Regions from separate parts of the Homo sapiens genome. Here regions 1, 2 and 3 are each linked to region 4. Evidence: promoter capture Hi-C in human tissues and cell types (Jung and others, 2019). All regions are on one chromosome and are shown on one strand. Each heading gives the region's core, a stretch centred on a gene start or on the middle of the fragment in contact. The rest is flanking DNA. Distances are from core to core; before and after follow the strand shown.

Region 1 (2,989 bases), core at 310-2,809, 280 kb after region 4:
GATGGCAGATTTCAATGAAATTTCCAAATACCCATTGGTAGATATTCAAATTTAGCTTATATACAATCACAAAAGTAGAAACATCACTTAGAAATTTATATAGGCTACATCTATAGATTTATAGATTTATCAAATAAAACAAAATGTATAAACCTGCACAATTCATTTTCTAAAGAATAACAAATATTAAAGTCCATTTTTTTGCAGAGTTACACATAACTTAATTTTTTGCACATTTATACATAAAATGATTTAGGTCTCTAAAAAAGCCAGTTGAAGCCAGGCATGGTGCACCTTTGTAATCTCAGCATTTTGGGAGGCTGAGGCAGGTGGCTCACTTGAGGTCAGGAGTTCTGGACCAACCTGGCCAAAATGGCGAAACCCTGTCTCTACTAAAAATACAAAAATTAGCCAGGTGTAGTAGTGCTATGCCTGTAATCCCAGCTACTCAGGAGGCTGAGGCATGGGAATCGCTTGAACCTGGGAGGTGGAGGTTGCAGCGAGCTGAGATCATGCCACTGCACTCCAGACTGGATGACAGAGTGAGACTCTGTCTCCAGGGGGGAAAAAAAAAAAAAAAAAAAAGCCATTTGATTTTTTAATAGAAATTGGTCACCAGAATCCCTAATATGATGAATTTCACTGCACTAATTGACTCTAAAGAGCACTATCACTTTCTAAAGGTAAGGATCTCACTCATTTATCATTTTAACTAGAGCGTCAGCTAGAAATGTATTTTCTCATAAAGACAGATACAACAAAGTGTTATATTGATACATTACTATTTGTCATTACACTAATAAGTGGGTAAACCAGGGACTCAGTATAGCATACTGATTAAAAGTATGAGCTCTGGAATTAAACCTATGTGGGCTTGAACCCTATAAGTGGCACTTGACAGTAACCTTAGGTGGTTTATTTAACCTCTTTTAGTTTCATTTTTCTTTTCTTTTCTTTCTTTCTTTTTTTTTTTTTTTAAGAGACTGGGTCTCTCTATGTTGCTCAGGCTAGTATTGAACTCCTGGCCTCAAGTGATCCTGCTAGGATTAAAGGCATGAGCCTCCATGCCCTAAGTCTCATTTTTCTAATCTGTATAATAGGGACACAAATGGCATCTACTTCACAGGGTTCTAAGAATTAAAGAATAATATATTTCAATTGCTTAGCATGGTACTTGCCACACAGTAAGTGCTCAATAAATATTACTAATCACACAAACATCATTAAGCTGTGATAGTCATCACCCGTAAACATCCACTGAATCCTTAGGTTGAAAGACAACTTAGAAATCATACAGTATTTTACCTAACACCAAATGCCAATGTCTTATTTCAAACTGTGAGGTAATCTTTTCCACTACTGGGTACATATTATCTTAATAAGGTCTTCATTACAAGCCTAAACCTGACTTCAGTTGAAGGGTTACAGTCAGGGTCCTCTGCTGAGCAGTACAGACCAGACCTCACTCTCTTTTCCACATGGCAGTCTATCAGATACTGAACACAGCAAACACCATCTGTTAGCTGCCACTCCCTCTTCCCTTTCCCAATTTGCAATCAATCCCCATCCCCATGGGTTTTTTTTTTTTCCTTTAAGAGACAGGGTCTCACTCTGTTGCCCAGGCTGGAGTGCAGTGGCACCATCATAGCTCAATGCAGCCTTGGACTTCCGGGCTCAAGTGATCCTCCCACCTCAGCCTCCTGTATAGCTGGGATTACAGGCACATGCCACCATGCCCACCTCCCCATAAGGTTGACTCCCTATTATGGCTCAGCAGAAAATGTGCCAACCAAATCTGAAGCAACTAATCCAGGTATAATCGATCAAAGCATTACATCATTATTATTTTTGTTGCTCCTGGAACAATACAACCTAAGATTGATTGTTAAAAAACTTGACATGTTTTCATATTTCAAATTGGGCTGATAAACTACCTAGATTTTTTTCCACCTTGAATTTTTATCAAGTCAGTATCCTCATACTATATTTTAAAAATGATTGCTAAAAAATTTGGAATAATCAACAGCATAAACAGACAACCTACAGAATGGGAAAAAATATTTGCAAACTATGCCTCCAACAAAGGGATGATATCCAGAATCTACAAGGAACTCAAAAAACGAGAAAAAAAAACAACCTCATTGTTTTTTTTTTTTATATGAACAGACATTTTTTCAAAAGAGCAGCAAACAAACACATTAAAAAATGTTCAACATCACTAATCATCAGAGAAATGCAAATTAAAATCACAATGAGGTACTGCTTTACAGCAGTTGGAATGGCTATTAGTAAAAAGTTAAAAAACAACAAATGTTGGCGAACATACAAAGAAAAGGGAACGCTTATACACTGCTGGTGGAAATGTAAATTAGTTCAGCCACTATGGAAAGTAGTTTAGAGATTTCTCAAAGAACTACCATTTGACTTGGCTATCCCATTACAGGGTATCTGCCCAAAGGAAAAGAAATTATTGTATGAAAAAGACACCTGCACTCATATGTTAATCACAGCCCTATTCATAATAGCAAAGATACCAACCTAAGTGTCCATCAGTGGATGACTGGACTAAAAATATGGTGTGTATATGTATCATGGACTACTACACAGCCATAAAAATGATGTCTTGTGCAGTAACATGGATGGAACTGGATGTCATTATCCTAAGTGAGATGACTCAAGCAGGAAGTAAAAAACTGCCTGTTTTCACTTTTAAGTGGGAACTAAATGGATACACAGGCATAGAGTGGAAAAACAGACCAAACAGTAAGAGAGTGGGAAGGGGGTGAGGAATTAAATACTACCTATTGGGTACAATGTACGCTATTTAGGTGATGAGCACACTAAAAGCCCAGACTTCACCATGACCCAATATATCCATGTGACACAAATGCACTTGTACCCCTGAATCTATTTTTTTAAAAAGCTTTCTAAAAAATTAAGTGCAAGGCTTTAATTGCCCTGTTAAATTCTTTTTTGTTGTTGTTTTTGA
Region 2 (3,022 bases), core at 207-2,706, 320 kb after region 4:
TCAACACTACAATCACATACTTGATGCCCCCAAATCTCAATGACAGCAAATTCTTAACAGCCATCAGCTTCCACTCCCACAGCTGGCCAGAAGACAGTGGTCTTCTGGCAGAGGGTGGGGTATAATATTACACAGCCAGGGCAGCCTGACCCTGGGAAGGGAACCAGAAGCATGTAGGCACACACAGCAAATGGCGCTGCCACTTGTGTGATGATGCCTGTTTGTTAGGACATGCTTGAGTCATCAGGGAAGGCTATTATCTGTGTATCATCTTTTCACAGGCAAGGAGGTAGATAACATGCTAGACATTTTTTAAAAAATCAAAATATGTTCATGTATGAAGGGGGTAATCTTCAGTCATCTTAAATTCACTTAAGGGCTCACTGCAATGCTCAATGCTGCAAGACAAATGAGGCATCACTGGACTTAGTTACTGGTTTAAAGAAAAAAATACATATATGTTTGGCACTTGTGGACACAGGTACCTAAACAAAGCAGTCCATAAGTAGTCTGATGGTGACTTTTTCTTTTATCACTTAGGTGATTAGTGCCAATTATAAAATATTGGCTAATGATAAAATACTTGTTACCACCCAGCATCCATATTCTTTGGAATGTCTGATTTTTAGCGGCCCAGTTAAAGACTTTATTTTCCAACCTCTCTCACAGCTAGGTGTGGCATGTAAGTAAATTCTGTCCAATGGGATGTAAGCAGAAGTGTATGGCACTGTCAGGAGGCCTCCTTGAAGGGATGGGCTGTGTGTTCCTTTGTCCGGCTGCACTGAACACAGTTGTGATGGTTGGGATGCTGTACGCATCTGGGCTAAGAGTGCAGGGGGCCTACCCTAGCGATAGCAGTGGGGAGACCTGGAAGGAGCTTGATCCCTGAGGATTTTATCAAACAGAGCTTTTTTTGTTTTTGTTTTGAGACAGGGTCTCACTCTGTCACCCAGGCTGGAGTGCAGTGGTACAATCTCAGCTCTCTGCAACCTCTCTCTCCCAAGCTCAAGCGATTCTCCCACCTCAGCCTCCCAAGTAACTGGGACTATAGGTGCATGCCACCACACCTGACTAATTTTTTTTTATTTTTAGTACAGACAGGGTTTCGCCATGTTGGCCAGGCTGGTCTTGAGCTCCTGGCCTCAAGCGATCCACCCGCCTTGGCCTCCTGAAGTGCTAGGATTATAGGCGTGGACCACCACACTCAGCCTCAACAGGGCTTTTATATGAGAAAAAAAAAGCTTCTATTAATTTCAACAGGGTCATTTTTGGCTTCTTCACTAGTAGCTGAATCTAATCCTAAAGCCTACGGTGTCTTTCACCTGCATCCCTCTGCTCTCCACTGTCTAACAACTTGACAAAAGAAGGGCTGCAATTCAATCTTCTAAAACCACTCATTGTTCTTGGTGACCCCCTTTTGAAGAGAAATGAGATAAACTTTAAACAGGTATACAGGCTGACCCTTGAGCAGCGTGGGTTTGGACTGCATGGGTCCACTCGTACATGGATTTTTTTCAATAAATATATTGGGAATTTTTTTGGAGACTTACAACAATTTGAAAAAACTCGCAGATGACCTGCATACCTAGAAAATTAATAGAAGCTTTTTTAAAATGAAAAAAAAAGTTAGAAATGTAATGAGTCCATAAAATATATGTAGATACTAGTCTATTTTATCATTTACTAACATAAAATGTACACAAATCTATTATTAAAAAGTTAAAATTTATGAAAATGTACACACACAAACACTTAGAGCCTGTACATGGTGCCACTGGCAGTTGAGACAAATACAAACATCAAAATGCGGTATTAAATCATAACTGCATAAAATTAACTGTAGTACATACTGTACTATTGTAATAATTTTGTAGTCACCTCCTGCTGTTTTTTGCGATGAACGCAAGTGTTGCTGATGAATAGCCTCTCTCCAGTAAACTGTGTATCACAGTAAAAAGTGATCTTTCTTGTTTACTGAATATTTTCCACTGTGTTTAAGTGCAATATTGTAAACTTTGAATAACATTGTGGGACCCACACGAAGGGCCACTAATGATGCTGGAAATACTCCCAAGAAGCAGAGAAAAATCATGATATTACAAGGGAAAATTGAATTACTTGATAGGCACCATAGATTGAGGTCTGCAGATGTGGTTGCCCATCTTTTCAAAATAAATGAATCCAGCATAGGGACCATTGTAAAAAAGGAAAACGAAATTCATGAAGCCATCACTGCAGCTATGCCAGCAGGTGTGAAAACCTGGCACTTTTTGTGGAATATCTTTTTATCTCATATTGAAAACACAGCTTTTTTTTTTTTCTTTGAGCCAGAGTCTCACTCTGTCGCCAGGCTGGAGTGCAGTGGCGCAATCCTGGCTTGCTGCAATCTCTGCCTCCTGGGTTCAAGCGACTCTCCTGCCTCAGCCTCCCGAGTAGCTGAGATTACAGGCACGTGCCACCACACCTGGTTAATTTTTGTATTTTTAGTAGAGATGGGGTTTCACTATGTTGGCCAGGATGGTCTCGATCTCTTGACTTTGCGATCTGCCCACCTTGGCCTCCCAAAGTGCTGGGATTACAGGCATGAGCCACCATGCCTGGCTGAAAACACAGCTTTTATGTGAGTGCAGTATTGCTAGAACAATGGCATACATACCTGTAGACTCTAATATGATTCTAGATAAAGCAAAGTCATTATATGATAACTCAAAGCAAAAGGAAGGTGAAGGATCTAAAGTTGGAAAATTTAATGCCAGCAAAGGACGGTTTGATAATTTTAGAAACAGGTTTGGCTGAAAAAAATGTCAAGATAAGAAGAGAAGCAGCTCGTGCTGACCAAGAGGCAGCAGACGAATTCCCAGACACCATTAAGAAAATCACTGAGGAGAAAGGATATCGGCCTGTACAGGTTTTTAATGCAGGCGAAAGTGCCCCGTTCTGGAAAAAAAGCACCACAAAGGTCCCTTATTAGTAAGGAAGATAAGTGAGCACCAGGATTTAGGGCAGGAAGTGATAGGCTAAC
Region 3 (3,376 bases), core at 230-2,729, 370 kb after region 4:
TTAGGCAATGGGATTTAATTATGTTGTGCGTCAGAGGTAGCAAGCATTGCACATTTCCTTAACAATGCTGTTGGTACACTTGTTTGGAGGAAGTGACAACAGGGAGATACTATCTTGAAAACATATTTTAACGACGAGCACAACTACCTCTAAGAGGGACTTCTGAATGCTACAACTTGGAGGAACCAGACTAAAAGATACTCTAGTCTGGAGACCTACGGCAGTACTGAATGATACTAACTCTGAGTGCGACATCCCTTCTCAGAGACAAAGCTTATTACCAAGTTCTGTTTCTCTTGGGAATTTTACCACTGGCTTCAAAAACCATGCTCCAACCCTGGCCCTAGAGCTTCTGAGATAGGATGTTCCTACATGTTTCAAACTGATCTCTTTTACTTTAAATGAAACCTACAACAATGTGATAATGCAAGTCAAATACGAATGGAAAAATTCTCCAATATCTGGATCCAGTCTGGAGGTATGGATTTGACCTAAGCTCTTTATCTTGATGAATCCAGAAAATATCTTTTTTTTCGTTTGTTTGTTTTTTGAGACAGGGTCTTGCTCTGTTGCCTAGTGCTTGGAGTGCAGTGGCACAATCTCGGTTCACTGCAACCTCTGTCTCCTGGGTTCAAGAGATCCCGCCTTAGCCTCCTGAATAGCTGATACTAAAGGCGTGCACCACCACACCTGGCTAATTAAAAAAAATTTTTTTTGGTAGAGATGAGGTCTCACTATATGGCCCAGGCTGGTCTCGAACTCTTGGGCTCAAGTGATCCGCCCACCTCAGCTTCCCAAAGTGCTGGGATTACGCGGGTTAGCCATTGTGTCTGGCGAAAATATCTTTTATTCACTAAACAGTTCAACATATGTATTCTCTCACTTGGAATGGAAAATACCTGCAAAGAATTTTTGTACCACAAGTTCATTCTCATACATAAAGAAAACAGGAGGAATAATTTTGAAATGTGTAAGGAAATTCTTTGGAATCTTTGTGGAGATATAACAATGGTTCCTAGTAGCTGTATCACCAAAAGTGGTGTGCAATCGATTCAGAGTCACAAGGCAGAATGTTTCAGAAAGGGCTCTTCCGTTTGAAATGCTCGGAGAGTGACTTTGGAATGCAACAATTTAGAGCAGGGACAGTAACCTTTTTCTGCAAAGGACCAGAGAGTAAATATTTGAGGCTTTGCAGACCATGTGGTTTCTGTTGCTATTACTCAAGTCTGGTGTGAAAGCTAGCATAGAACAGGCATGGCTGAGGTCCAATTACACTTTATTTATGGACACTGCAATTTAAATTTCATACAGTTTTCACATGTCATAAAATACTGTCTTAATTTTTTTCTTTTCTTTCTTTCTTTCTTTTTTATTTTTTTTTAGATAGGGACTCTCTTTGTTGTATGGGCAGGAGGGCAGTGGTGAAATCATAGCTCACTGCAGCCTCAACCTGCTGGGCTCAAGGAACCCTCCTGCTTCAGCCTCCCTAGTAGCTGGGACTACAGGCACATGCTACCTCACTTGGCTTAGTTTTAATTTTTTTGTAGAGAAGGGGAGCTCGCTATGTTGCCCAGGCTGGTCTTGAACTCCTGGACTCAAGTGATCCTTCTGGCTTGGCCTCCCAAAGCCCTGGGATTATAAGCATGAGCCACCTGCCCAGCAAAACATTTTTTTCCCAACCATTTCAAACTGTAAACCCCATTCTAGCTTGGGGGGCATTACAAAAAACAGGCAGCCATTTGTCAAAACCTGATAGAGTGCATTTTCAATTAGGGAATTGGGAAGGCCGAGAGAAAGAACACACACATACAGTTGCCTTTCATTCACCTTCACTGGAGGAAACACACGTGGCCACTTAACAGGAGCTATTAGGCCAGATTCCTGTTACCTGGGGAGTTCTGAGGTGAAGAACAGGGTGAACATCGGGGAGAGAAGCTATACCCAGGGTGGAAGGCAGCCTGCAGGGGGACGTAGGACATAATCTCTTCTTCAAAGAGACTGCATATGAAAAAAAAAAAAAAAAAAAAGAAAGAAAAGAAAGTCAGTTTTACATCCCTGAGAAAGTGTTCACGAATTGGGGTAGCAGCACTTACACTTCTCACAAAGCAACAAAAGCAATTAGATTTAAATGTAGTACAGAAAGATAGGTACATGCTGCTTGCAAATTCTCAGTGTTGTTTTAAACCTTGATTAATCCTACAACAAAGTCTCCATCAAGTACTTTACGCAGCTCTTGCTAGCTCAATTGCAAATCTAAGGACTGTGATGGACACAGGTACAAGGGTGGGGTCCCACTTGCGTTGCAGTTACTAGAATCCTCTAGAACAAGCGGTGAGTTTTTCAGTCTAGGCCATTTTCAGGGTGGCCGTGATGGAGGAGAGCTGCCCAGGGAAGCTTTTCCAGAAGGATTTCAGGCCTAGCCCCCTACCTCAGCAAAATGACCAGATCCGCATCACAGGACAACTTCTCAAGCCCGTGATTACCCTCAGTCCGAATGTAATGGATTTTCTCCCTGAATCATGTGAGAAAGAAGAGGAAAATTAGATGCCAACACATAAACTCAGAAATACATTTTCTTCTGATCTCTTATTTCCTCTTCCAATACTGCTGAATAGCAATGTCCTAACGTCCTATGTATTTTGCAGAATTCTAAGTTTGTATCACAGGCTCTCAGGATGCTCTATGAGGGATGGCTTTTCTACAGACTTGCACAGGTACAGAAGCTGAGGAACACAGCAAAGTTAGGTCCTCAGGTAGCTAAGACAGTCAGGAGTGGAGCTGGGTAAGAGATTGCTCCTGAAAGACTGTTCTGGGGCGGGGCACAGTGGCTCACACTTGTAATCCCAGCACTTTGGGAGGCTGAGGCAGGCAGATCACGAGATCAGGAGTTCAAGACCAGCCTGAGGAATATGGTGAAACCTTGTCTCTACTAACAATACAAAAATTAGCCAGGTGTGGTGTTGCCTGCCTGTAATCCCAGCTATTCAGGATGCTGAGGTAGGAGAATCGCTTGAACCGGGAGGCGGAAGTTGCAGTGAACTGAGATCGTGCCACTGCACTCCAGCCTGGGCGACAGAGGAAGACTTCATCTCAAAAAAAAAAAAAAAGACTGTTCTTGGCTCATGTCGTGTTGGAAGCCATGGGAGGAAAGAGTGAGTTGCGGGGTGAGTGTCTCTTGAGAAATCTTGTGCCTGATGGAAAATTTATGATGCCACATTGGGCACAGAGGGGGCCCGGCCCCAAGAACCAAGAACAGTCTCCCAGGTCAGTCAAGGCACAGGCATCAATTTTGTCTCTGTCAGCTACAACTCGTGTATTCTGATCCTTTTAGACAACCTCCAACTCCAACTCGGCAAATTATTTCAAGTAAGTCTAT
Region 4 (3,361 bases), core at 160-2,659:
TAACAATTATAAAATTATTGAACATTATGAAAACTTTAAAAAATAATTGTCAGTTGAAAAGGATTTCTTAGGAAATGTTGAAAGTTCTTACATTTGCAAAGTATGCATTGGAGGGCACCTCATCCCTGTTCTGTCCCTTTATTCAATATGCATAACAGTTGGGGGCCGCAGTTCCTAAAAAGTAAGAATAAAACATTTCTGGTGAAGTGGACATGGAAGACCTTGTCCTTTTATTACGGGTTTTTTGAGAACCCACCTTCATGTAATCAGAGGAATCTTGGTCATGGGAAATGGGCTGGACTGAAGTCAAGAGACTTGTGTCTTGGTCCCTCTTTCCCTCTTCTCAGTGTGGTCATGGGCAACTCATTTCCACCGTTCTTCCATTTCCCCTTCCCATGGATCATAATCCAGTCCTCCCCCTGACAGGAAACCGCAGCAGTATGCAAGTACTGTACCATTAAGGGGAATGATGTAGACCCAGAACGGCCAAAACATTGGCAATTTCACATCACTCAACCAAACACAACCCATCATTGATTAAATATTCTCTTGATCCTAATAGCTCTATAAGGTAGTACTATTATTAAGGCCCATTTTATAGATAATAGAACTGAGTCTTAACTGTACAAAGATTGTTATACATGGGTCTGACTCCAGAGCCCGTGTTTTTTCCATGACCGTGGTGACTTCTAAAATAAAATATCCCGCGTTGCTATTTTTCCGTTTGACATTAATAATTACTGGATACCAATAATAGTGGCGACGCACTGGTTTCAGCATTACAGGCCCTGCGATATTCTCACGAATCTCCTTGCCCTCCGGCCCCTTCCCCGTACTTAAAATTTTCCTTCCTCAGGGGCCAGTCACCACTGTGGTCACATGTGGCAAACCCATTCTTGCATAACTGCGTAAGTCATCCTTGAAGAATTGGGTGACGTTTTAACCAAAATATGTTTCTTCTTTATTTGTGGATAAAAGTCTGGAGGGTTTTTCTGTTTTGTTTTTCTACGAATATTATTTGGAGGCATAACTAGGACCTGGGGAAACGCTTGGCTCCTCTTCGAGCCCCGAGGGTGCAGGTTGGGCAGGGCGGGCTCCGGTGGGCCGCACACCCATCACCCGTACTAGCGTGAGGTTGTCGAAGAGAAAATCTCACGTTTCGCATCCTCAAATTTCCGGATCTGAAACCCTATGCAAGCAGCAACCGCGGGAGAGCGAACAGCGGCGGGATGAGCATTCACAAGGCTGAGCATTCACAGGGCTGCGGGGAAGGCGGGAGTAACAGCTAGCAGCATACCGCGGCCCCGCCCCGCAGAGGCCCTGCCCCGCCCCCGCCAGAGTACAGAGTACGAGCTCCGACTTGGTCTCGTCCGCGGTCGTCCCCACCCCTCAGCGCGCTGTGGTACGTCCCGCGCTCCGCTTGGCCCAAGATGGCGGCCTCCGTGTGCAGCGGGTTGCTGGGGCCACGGGTGAGTGGGGCGACTCGGCAGGTCCCTGCGAGTCGGAGGTGGGGTCCCTAGTTTCCGCCTCACGCGCCCTCCCTCCACAGGTGCTGTCCTGGAGCCGAGAGCTGCCTTGCGCTTGGCGCGCCCTGCACACCTCCCCGGTCTGCGCCAAGGTGAGCACCGCCGGGGCAGGGGCCTGGGGGCCTGGGGGCCGGGGGGCCGGGGGCCGGGGAAGCCGTGCGGGCTGAAGGGGGCGTGTCGCTGGGGTCCGAGGCGGGGCTAGGGTCGGGGCTTAGGGATCAGGGGATTGGGGCCGGGGAACAGTGCCAGCTGACTGGGGGGACATGGCGCGAAGTAGGGGTCTGGATCGGGGATCTCGTGGAGTCACGGCCCCTTTTGCTCCTAGAACCGGGCGGCCCGAGTACGCGTAAGCAAGGGGGACAAGCCGGTGACCTACGAGGAGGCACACGCGCCGCACTACATCGCCCACCGTAAAGGCTGGCTGTCGCTGCACACAGGTGAGCGGACCCCAGGCCTCCAAAAGGAGCACTCAATCCGACTGTCATGTAAACAAAATGAACACGTGTCACAGGTTTTCTTTAACTCAGGAAATAATGCTAGGGTCAGAAATCTATGAAACCAACTCAAGGGAGACATAAAAAAGCAGAGATATATATAGATCAGGATGTTGAAACAAATTTGAAGATGGATGCAAAACTGACTTTTTCCATGGCAGGCAGGGACTCAATTGATCCTCCACTGAACAGAAATTATTTGCATGTCTACAGACAAGAATTATTTTGCATTCCTGTCAGTTATCTGTAATTTACAGAGCTGTAAAATAGCTCAGAGTCAAGGAAAGGAGTGAAACCGTTGCAGAATCTGATAACCCTGAACAGTGTGCTCTAAGGAATGCAGTTTTCCACTAAAGCACAAATTTTTCTCTGTAAATATATACAGACAACCCTCGTTATTCATGAATTCCATATTTTCAGATTCTTCTACTGACTAAAATTTATTTGTAAGCCCCAAATCAACACTCTGGGCACTCTCAAGGTCACTCTGAGATGTGGGTGGAGCTGCCACCCCAGGTGCATGTCCCGAGCTGAGGTCGACAAGGCTCTGCCTAGTTTCAGCTCTCGTACTGTAAAAGGTGTCCTTTTTATGGTCTAGAATCTTTTTTTTTTAATTTGCATTTTCGTGCTTTTTGTTAGTGATTTTGCTGTTTAAAATGGCCTTGCAATGCTGAAGTGCTATCTAGTGTTCCTAAGCGGGAGAAGGCTGTGACGTGCCTTAGGGAGAACATACATGTATTAGAGAATCTTTCTTCAGTCATGAGTTGCTCTTGGCCCTGAATTCAATGTTAGTGAATCTACCATATATATTAAACAAGGTGTCTTTAAACAGAAACACAAAGGAAACTAGGTTATGTATTGATTTGTTAACAAAAATACGGTGCCCAGAGGCTGAAAGGAATCTAACCCTGTATTTCACCTAGGAGCAATGGTTCAGTATTCACTAAGTCAGTGTTGGCAGTGACTTTATAGAATATAACTATTGTGAACAATTGATAACCAACTGTGCTTTGTTTAGTACAGGGGTTCTTGGATGTTTGAGATGCATCTAGAGAACTTACTTAAAATACAGATGCTTGCCTGGCACGGTGGCTCACGCCTGTAATCCCAGCACTTTGGGAGGCCGAGGAGGGTGGATCCTGAGGTCAGGAGTTCAATACCAACCTGGCCAAGATGGTGAAACCCCATCTCTACTAAAAATACAAAAAAATTAGCTGGGCGTAGTGGCGGGCGCCTGCAATCCCAGCTATTCAGGAGGCTGAGGCAGAGAATTGTTTGAACCCAAGAGGCGGAGGTTGCAGTGAGCCGAGATCACGCCACTGCACTCCAGCCTGGACGACA

What was found. The method cuts DNA at HindIII sites, captures the fragments that hold promoters and counts their contacts. A contact is called where the count stands out against the background at its distance.
Region 1: a contact is called between a fragment that was not itself captured here and the fragment with the promoter of MRPS24 in region 4, in 1 of the 25 tissues and cell types used here (dorsolateral prefrontal cortex).
Region 2: a fragment that was not itself captured here is called in contact with the fragment with the promoter of MRPS24 in region 4 in 1 of the 25 tissues and cell types used here (H1 embryonic stem cells).
Region 3: a fragment that was not itself captured here is called in contact with the fragment with the promoter of MRPS24 in region 4 in 2 of the 25 tissues and cell types used here (IMR-90 fibroblasts and liver).

What each region holds. Positions count from the first base shown.
Region 1 is chr7:43,592,864-43,595,852 of GRCh38, reverse strand. The region is part of intron 1 of STK17A (serine/threonine kinase 17a); the gene reads right to left. Among named protein-coding and RNA genes, the nearest start is that of STK17A, 11 kb to the right of the region's middle. The HindIII fragment of the contact is 8,630 bases long and covers 1-2,989 here.
Region 2 is chr7:43,546,848-43,549,869 of GRCh38, reverse strand. All of the region lies in intron 26 of HECW1 (HECT, C2 and WW domain containing E3 ubiquitin protein ligase 1), which reads right to left. Among named protein-coding and RNA genes, the nearest start is that of LUARIS, 26 kb to the right of the region's middle. The HindIII fragment of the contact is 4,626 bases long and covers 1-3,022 here.
Region 3 is chr7:43,499,835-43,503,210 of GRCh38, reverse strand. HECW1 (HECT, C2 and WW domain containing E3 ubiquitin protein ligase 1) reads right to left here. Exons shown (of 30, transcript NM_015052.5): 20 at 2,429-2,512; 21 at 1,889-1,998. Among named protein-coding and RNA genes, the nearest start is that of LUARIS, 21 kb to the left of the region's middle. The HindIII fragment of the contact is 5,387 bases long and covers 1-3,376 here.
Region 4 is chr7:43,867,565-43,870,925 of GRCh38, reverse strand. MRPS24 (mitochondrial ribosomal protein S24) reads left to right here and starts at 1,409. Exons shown (of 4, transcript NM_032014.3): 1 at 1,409-1,469; 2 at 1,550-1,618; 3 at 1,852-1,963. The coding sequence starts at 1,431. URGCP-MRPS24 (URGCP-MRPS24 readthrough) reads left to right here. Exons shown (of 7, transcript NM_001204871.2): 5 at 1,550-1,618; 6 at 1,852-1,963. The coding sequence ends at 1,940. It overlaps LOC124901620 (a long non-coding RNA gene), which reads right to left and starts at 1,280. Exons shown (of 2, transcript XR_007060296.1): 1 at 92-1,280. RefSeq lists an enhancer at 928-1,047 and silencers at 1,278-1,337, 1,638-1,697. The HindIII fragment of the contact is 19,139 bases long and covers 1-3,361 here.